2 separate regions of the Homo sapiens genome follow, and region 1 is linked to region 2. Evidence: promoter capture Hi-C in human tissues and cell types (Jung and others, 2019). All regions are on one chromosome and are shown on one strand. The core of a region is centred on a gene start or on the middle of the fragment in contact, and the rest is flanking DNA. Distances in the headings are between cores, read along the strand shown. Region 1 overlaps SF3B1 (splicing factor 3b subunit 1). Region 2 holds the start of C2orf66 (chromosome 2 open reading frame 66).

The links. Contacts are between HindIII fragments. The study calls those that stand out against the background at their distance.
Region 1: a fragment that was not itself captured here is called in contact with the fragment with the promoter of C2orf66 in region 2 in 1 of the 25 tissues and cell types used here (dorsolateral prefrontal cortex).

The regions. Positions count from the first base shown.
Region 1 is chr2:197,389,603-197,393,722 of GRCh38, forward strand. It overlaps SF3B1 (splicing factor 3b subunit 1), which reads right to left. Exons shown (of 25, transcript NM_012433.4): 24 at 3,370-3,586; 25 at 182-2,859. The coding sequence ends at 2,701. Among named protein-coding and RNA genes, the nearest start is that of SF3B1, 43 kb to the right of the region's middle. The HindIII fragment of the contact is 5,939 bases long and covers 1-4,120 here.
Region 2 is chr2:196,807,256-196,811,281 of GRCh38, forward strand. C2orf66 (chromosome 2 open reading frame 66) reads right to left here and starts at 2,100. Exons shown (of 3, transcript NM_213608.3): 1 at 1,959-2,100; 2 at 169-367. The coding sequence starts at 2,081. The coding sequence ends at 188. The HindIII fragment of the contact is 3,112 bases long and covers 487-3,598 here.

The DNA of each region.
Region 1 (4,120 bases), core at 64-2,563, 580 kb after region 2:
TGTGGCTGCAACTTTTTTAGTTTCTTATTAAAGAAAAAGTTCTCTGGTTTTTCAACACTAAGTTCCCTTATTTCGAAAACAACCGAAAGAGCTCAATTTTGCAAAAATGGCACAACCACAACAGAGTGCAGTGTGATAACAATACAGAGTCAACTAAGATTAAAAATTGGTCTACTAAGACTTTAGATATAATACGTTTTATTCATCTAGTGGTACTTGGTGCTCACAGGGCACTGTACAACAAATTTTAAAAATACAATATGAAAAAAATCAAACAGCCAGAGATCAATTCCATTAGAGGGCGATGGCCCACAGAAAAACCAACAAAGGCCCACAGAAAAACCCACCCTGTCTCCTTAAGAACATTTCTTTGTTTGGCTTTAAGAAACACCAAAAGAAAATACAAAAGAAAAGGTCTTTGAGAAGATAGGTAAAACTTCACATAGCGTCTTCCACATATCACAAAATGCTTTCCTTATTTAATAATAAGCACATAAAATAATCCAAATATCTGTGAGCCTCTATTTGGTCCCAATGTTTTAGGTCATAGCTTTCACTACTTCCCTCCTCTCTATCCTCAAATTATTTGCATCAGTAAAAAAAGTTAATTAAGGTGTAACAGTCTCCTTTGCTCCACAATGCCACTACAAAGCCTATTTTCCATAAAGAACCAGAGGCCAAGCAAACGTAGGCTACTAAGTACTTGAATTGAAAATACAACTAAAATTTCCTGAGTCATTTAACATCAAATTTTGGCTTTGTAATCTATTTGTATTCAATTCTCAGTCATTACTGAAGGTCATTTGACATCAACCATAGAGAGCAGTGAGATTTAAAGTTGCATGGAAGTACCGCTGAAAACTTCTAACAACAGAAAGATGAGTTTGGAGTGTTTAATTTTACTACATAGTGACATATATTCAGAAAGTTGTCATACAAGGAATGATGAGGAGTTACAAATCCAACTTGGAAACCCTTAATGCTCACTATCAATTTGTTGAAAGTCAATTTTTTTTTTTTTTTTGAGACGGAGTCTCTGTCGCCCAGGCTGGAGTGTAGCAGCGCTATCTCGGCTCACTGCAAGCTCCGCCTCCCGGGTTCAAGCCATTCTCCTGCCTCAGCCTCCCTAGTAGCTGGGACTACAGGCGCCCGCCACCACGCCTGGCTAATTTTTGTATTTTTAGTAGACGGGACTTCACCGCGTTAGCCAGGATGGTCTCGATCTCCTGACCTCGTGATCCGCCCGCCTCAGCCTCCCAAAGTGCTGGGATTACAGGCATGAGCCACCACACCCGGCCACAAGCTGTTTCTTAACTAAGCTTCTGAAGCAGGAACTCCTAAAGTGTCAATAGGCAGTTTTACTTACAGTAGTAGTTATATACTAATGCTGCTTGCAGAATTTTTTTTCCCTTTAGAGTTCACAGAAGTACTACCACATGGAGACAAAACAAAACAGTAAAAATAGTATAGGTAGTAAAAAGGCCAAAACTAAGAAATTTGGGGCCATAACATTAGAAAAGTTTGAAAATATACTTTACATATTTGCTTAAAAAATTAAGTGTAGTACTGCCTTAATGCTTGGTTCCTCTACCATTAAATGGCATTTCATTCAGTTTATGCTGAACTCTTAGATCAACTTATTATTACTGAATACAAAGCTAAGCAAACCTAGACATTTTAGCTGCTGCCACTGTGTATTATCACAGTACATAAGGAATCTGTCACAAGGTTTGTCTCCCCTTCTCCATTATACTGTTCTTAAAGGTAGAGGGCAGGTCTCATGCACCTTTGCATCCCCTGCATATAAGCACAGTGGCTGGCATACAGTGGGTGAATAGGTATTTACTGATGCATTGCTGAGTAGTGGCTTATAACATGGAGAAAAGCCCAACATTGTCCTGTTCTATCAGCATTACTTAGGTATCCTCACTCCTAATAGGCAGAAAGCAGTTTTGAAGTAAAGTTAAATTCCTCACTTGCTAAACACAGCAGACCTGTCAAGTGTTGGACAAGACTTAAACCACTTTCTTTAAATGTGTTCATAAAGCATTTTGAGAAATCAAGAGATGAAAGGCGCTATGTAAGTACAAAATATTCAAGACAGTTTAGCAAAAGTGCTACTTTTCTACGATGATGGAATGGTTGTGCTAGTTTGAGGGGAACATCCCCTGAGGCTACTCTTCTTGCTGTCATTATTAACACAACAATGGAATTTTGACAAAGATGCCATCACTTTATATAGTTTTTATTCAGCTAACTACTTTCTATAAACCATGTGACAGAAAATGAAATTAAGCCACTTATTCCACATAAACCAATACTTTATCAAAGTTCCGCATTTTACAAGTCATGTTCAAAAAACACACACAAATTAGCATTTTGTACACAAATGTTTATTTCTCAATTAAACATTCCCTTTAAACACAAGGAATGAGTTCTAAATCTTCATAAAGATGAATTAAAAATGAAATCCCTCCAGTATAGTGTATATAATCACTGTGTTCTTGGTCACTACTGGCATTTACTGTTTAACATCAAAAACAAAGACAGGTTATTTAAAAATCATGCTACTGGATTTCTAGCTCTTCCTCTATGACCAGTTCTACACTGATCTGCAATGTTTAAAAGTTTACATCACCAAATCAAAGCAAGTTTAAGGTGTGAAGTAGCTGTGCATTAAACACAAAATAAACAATAAAATTATAAGATATAGTCAAGTTCATAACGAATATAGGTGTTCTTATCATCGTTGTAGATTCTTGGGTAATGTGCTATGAGAGCGTCCTGGGAACCAATGTAGATGGAGTTGTAAATTTTCCAATATACATCTCTGACTTTCCGGGCTGGGTGAAACAGACCCTAAAATAATTGAACGGTTACATTATTTCAATTTTTAAGAACATACATAACCTTAACAAAATTAAGAAAACATAAAGATATGATTCAAAATTATTTCCCTTGGGGAGTTGGGGGGGGGGGAACCTACTAATTACACTGCTCTTAAGCTGCAATGGAAGAGACAAAACTCACTCCCCTGTCACCACACAATTGTTCTACCATATGGCACAATATACCCTAATGATAATCAGGAAAAGTAACTTAATTCAATACACTACTTTTCTTGCTAAGTAATCTTTTAAAAATCTTTAACTTACAGGCAGTGGGGGGAAAGGGGAGGGAGAGCATTAGGACAAATACCTAATGCATGCAGGGCTTAAAACCTAGATGACAGGTTGATAGGTGCAGCAAACCACCATGGCACATATATACCTATGTAACAAACCTGCACGTTCAGCACAAGTATCCCAGAACTTAAAGTATTATTTAAAAAAAAAAAATCACCGATTAAAAAAAAAATCTTTAACTTACCTGTAAACAATATTGCAACATTCTACATGGTCCAATAGCAACTCTCAGGCCCTCTAGGGCTCCCATAACTGCCTGAATTACATGAGGAGATGTCTCAAATACATTGGGCCATACATAGTTCAACAAGTGATTCAGCGAATCTTCACAACCAAATCCATAAACCCCAAGTGACATGTGCTGTACCACTGCACTAGCCGTCTGTCTGTGTACAAGGTCTCTACAACGGAAGGGAAAAAAGTCCTTTAAGATGCGGTCTTATAAGAAAGGGGGAAAAATCCTTAAAGATACAGTCTTAGTTTTACAGGAAATATTCACCGGCCCATTAGAAACTAAATTACTAATTCAGTGCACTGAATAGATGTGAAGTCATCTAACATTTCATATATCTAATATATCCTTTAGAATAGCTTCCACTTGAGGACTTTTGCTTTAATTACTCAAGATTCACTATGGCTCAACAATTAAGCCATATTTTCTAATTAACTTTTTTTTTTTTTTTGAGACGGAGTCTTACTCTGTCACCCAGACTGGAGTGCAGTGGTGTGATCTTGGCTCACTGCAACCTCTGCCTCCCAGGTTCAAGCAATTCGCCTGCCTCAGCCTCCTGAGTAGCTGGAATTACAGGTGTGTGCCACCACGCCTGCCTAATTTTTGTATTTTTAGTAGAGACAGGGTTTCACCATGTTGGCCAGGATGGTCTCGATCTCTTGACCTTGTGATCTGCCCGCCTCAGCCTCCCAAAGTACAGGGA
Region 2 (4,026 bases), core at 850-3,349:
AATACCTGAACCAAATCCAAATACTTAATAGTAATGAGTATAAGCAGAACTGAGCATTTATTTCTATGAGGAAATAAAATTATGTTTTCAAATAAATACTTTCAAAATATCTACTTTATGGCTGACTTGTATGTTTGGACAGATCCAGAATAAAGGGCCAACTTTTACCTGAGCTCAGAAGAAACTTTCAGCCTTTGAGATAATTGTGAAAGGAGTTTTTCTGCTCTTCATAATCTGCAGATGCAGAAGCAGTAAGTTCTGACTGGAAAGAGAGAGGTCTAGGATTTTCATTCGTGGGGAAAGGATTTGGAAATGTTCCAAGATCAAGACCTCTGCCCTTAAAATATGCCTGAAGCCTTCTGAAAAACTAAAGAGAGAAAGAAAATGGTCAATGCCAGATATAAATGAAACACCAAAAATAAAGGTGTTTTTCTTCCCTCTATTTTTCCCCTGAATTGACTTTAAGGCTAATCTAAGAGGCAGGAAATACAAAATCTAGAAATACAAGTACATGCTTCAGCTACTTCTCCTCCCCTCCTCTGTACCTTCTTTCTGACATTTCAACCCTAACCAAAATAATTCACCATTCTTACTGAAAATTGAAGGAAGACTATGGAGCGGCACCACAGTGGAAAGATTCATTGTGAACTATCTCTGAGTACTAAGGTCAAAGGTGAAAATGAACTCCATAATAAGCAGCTCAGTATCTCCTCTTCCTTAATATGAGATCTCTGTTGTTGCCTTCTGCAATAGTTTCTTTTCAGATTTCCATTAGGAAATGAACACAGAAGATGTGCGAAGTGCTACTTGCTTTGATGCAGGACAGGCAAATCCCAAAACTGGAGCTTAGCACAGGAGGGTTCTTGGCTTTGCCCAGAAAAGAATTTAAGGGCAGGCTGGTTGTGGTAACAATCTTTTATTGAAAGGTACTGCTCCTGCCAGAACAAGGCTAATTCATAGGTAGTGCACCTAGGGCTGACAACATATGGGCTCTTATCAACTGTGTTTTTATCCACTTTTGAATATATGCAAATTAAGGGATGGGTTAATGCAAACAGAAGGGAGTTATTTAGAGCTTTCTAGGAAAGAGGTGGTAACTTTTGGGTCATTGCCATGGAAAGGAGTGGTAGCTTCCAGGTAATTGCCATGACATTTGTAAACTGTCATGGCACTGAGGGGAGGATCATATCCTAAGAGCAATGAGAGCAGGTCGGGACCACTTTTGTTGCCATCTGCTGGTTTCACCCAGTGTTTTCACTTTATCCTGTCTGGACCAGATCCTGTTTTCGTCAGCAGCTGTGACCAGAAAACAAATCCTGCTGGTCTCTTATCTCAGTTTATTTTAATCCTATGTTGTTATATTTCCCATCATTCACTTTAGAAAAACCATATTTCAAAATAGTCATGTCAACATGTTTATTGTATTTGGCATTTTTTTTAAAGAGAATGTTTACTGATCTTTTGAATTCTATTTTATAGATAACTATATGTTGAAAATATGTCCAGTAAATTGATACCCATGCAGGGTCAACTTTCAATTTTTGCAGCTGAGCTTGGCAATCTCTAGTTATATGATAACTTGTTTTATCATCAGTTCAATCTAAGCTATGCACGAGCAATTCCCTGTTACACTCTTTATTTTTTATATGTATTAGAAATCAAGGCTACAAAGTCAATGTGTATATAAGATCAGTTACAAATGAATTGTACTATGTGTGTATAAGATTGTTTCTAAATATAAATTTGTTTCTCTTTACAGAAACAAATGTAAACTGGCCAGAGAAACAATAGGTTGCCAACCACTAGGGTAGTAAAACTCTGGTCCAATCCTGTTGGAGAATTTTCTCAACCCTTGGTAGCCCCCTTTCCACTACGTTCTGGAAAACAGAATGCTGTGTGCGTAAATCCAAAGAGGCATTAGTTCTATCCTGAAACCCAGGCCCCAAGTGTGTTCTTACCAGATCTCTGTTTCTGGGGTTGTTGAGTGGCTTCCATTTGTCCTCATTTCTTACTGTGGCTCCATTCACATGCCCAAGCAGCACCAGGGCAACACATAGTAGCAGGAGAGGTGCTCTGGTCATGGTGGAGTGAAGCTGAGTGAAAGAGGGGATGCGGGAGCTGTCAATGATCATTGAGAGAGATAGTCAGGGAAGAGAGAGAGAAAGAGGAAACATCTGTAAAGGCAGACAAGGAAGGAGAAATAGCATACTGGTTTATCTAAGTTTTACAGCCATCTTTTTTCCAGATTGACTTCTAAATGAGGACCCCAAAATGCAACTGATTAGCTTAAAGTAGCCCATGATAATGAGAATGTTATACAGTGATAAGCAAAACAATTATGGAACATAACATAGAAAGTCTGAATATGCCTTTTTCATCTTTGGAAAAAAAGTACTTTGTTGTCTCCAAAGAAACTGCAACTCTTAAAATAACAAAAAACAAAACCTTAAATTACTTTTAAGCCTTAAGACAGCAGTCTTTAAAAAAAAGAAAAGAAAAAGAAATTACTTCAGATACCGAGCTGAGAAATACACCTTATACACACATCTGAGACAGACAGACACATACCACAACAGTGTGAGTAGAGATTGTCTTCCACTCCAAGGTGTGAAAGAGAAACTGAGACACATTGTAGAAAAGGCTAATAAAGCTTACCAGGAGTTTGGTTTTGGTTGGTCCTCCTAGGTTATCCTGCCTATAATTGGCAAGGCAATTCATGGGTACTTATAACCAATGGATTGGGTGCCAGTGGAAGTCACTGACTTGAGCAGGGGAGTTAAAAAATAATGATTCCTTTTTCATCCAGAACACAAAGATTCTTGAGAGTCAGATCTTCAAGCTTCTTCAGGGATAAGCTTATTTGCCTTAGAAATGCGGCAGCCACTCCTTGAACCACGAACATTTTATGTGGATTTTATAAAACACACAAAGCACTTCCACACAGCAAAGTGATTTTCTCCTTTTTTACTTTTAAGGGAAGGGATACACCTGGAAATATGATGGATTATAGCTGGAAATATGATGATGATTATCCCACCTATTAGAACGTTCTTTTGGAGATATGACTTTTTCAAGTTAACAGCATTTTTTGAACAGAAAATTCTTTTGTGAGAGACAAAATTACTCTTTTTGACCTATACCTTGTACTTTTTTCTGAGAACCTCAAGAAGCTTTACAAGTTTTAAATAGTGGCATCATTTATCATAATATCTCTTCAAAATAGAGCAAGAAGATAACACATGTTTCATGGAAAAAAGATAAATTACTATACCTACAACATTCCCTTGCTGAATAAATGCCATCTGTAGAAAATGGTAGGCCGAGAAATTGGACTTGAGTTGTGACGTTGCTTTGGTTCCAATGATTTAGAACAAAATTTAGGACAAGATATTTATTCAGAAGGCTGGTGATCTCGACTGGAAATTAGCAAACCTGGCTATAGTCTCAGTCTTGCCATCTTGACCCTGGGCAAGTTACTATGACCTCTGCCCTTCAGTTGTTCATTTCCTCTGTTTATTCATTCAGCAGACTTTTACAAAGTGCCTACTATGTGCCAGGTACTGCAACAGGATTTGAGGATGAAATGGTAAGAATAATAAATACAGTCCTTGCCCTCATTAAAATAGAGTAGTGGGCAAGACAAACATTAATCAAATCGTACAACCAAATGTGTACATATAAGTGAACAATCATTTCTATGAAATAGCGAGTGCTATGAAAGTATAGAAAAAGGGAATTTGATTCAGTCTGAGAGCCAAGGAAGTCTTCTGTGAAGAAATGACCTTACATCCAGTCAACTGAATAGGAGTTACCCAGGCAACCTGAGGAAGACAGAGGGAGAAGTGTGTCTAAAAAGGTGAACAGCTGTGCTAGGAATGGGGCACTTTAAAGGTACTGAAATTATGCCAGGCGTAGAGGGAGCAGGTGGGATGCCTGACGCAAGATGGGGCCGGAGAGGTAGTCAGATTATGATCTTTAGGCTACAAGTAATGCTAACTGATTAAAGGGTTTTAGGCATCAAAGAAG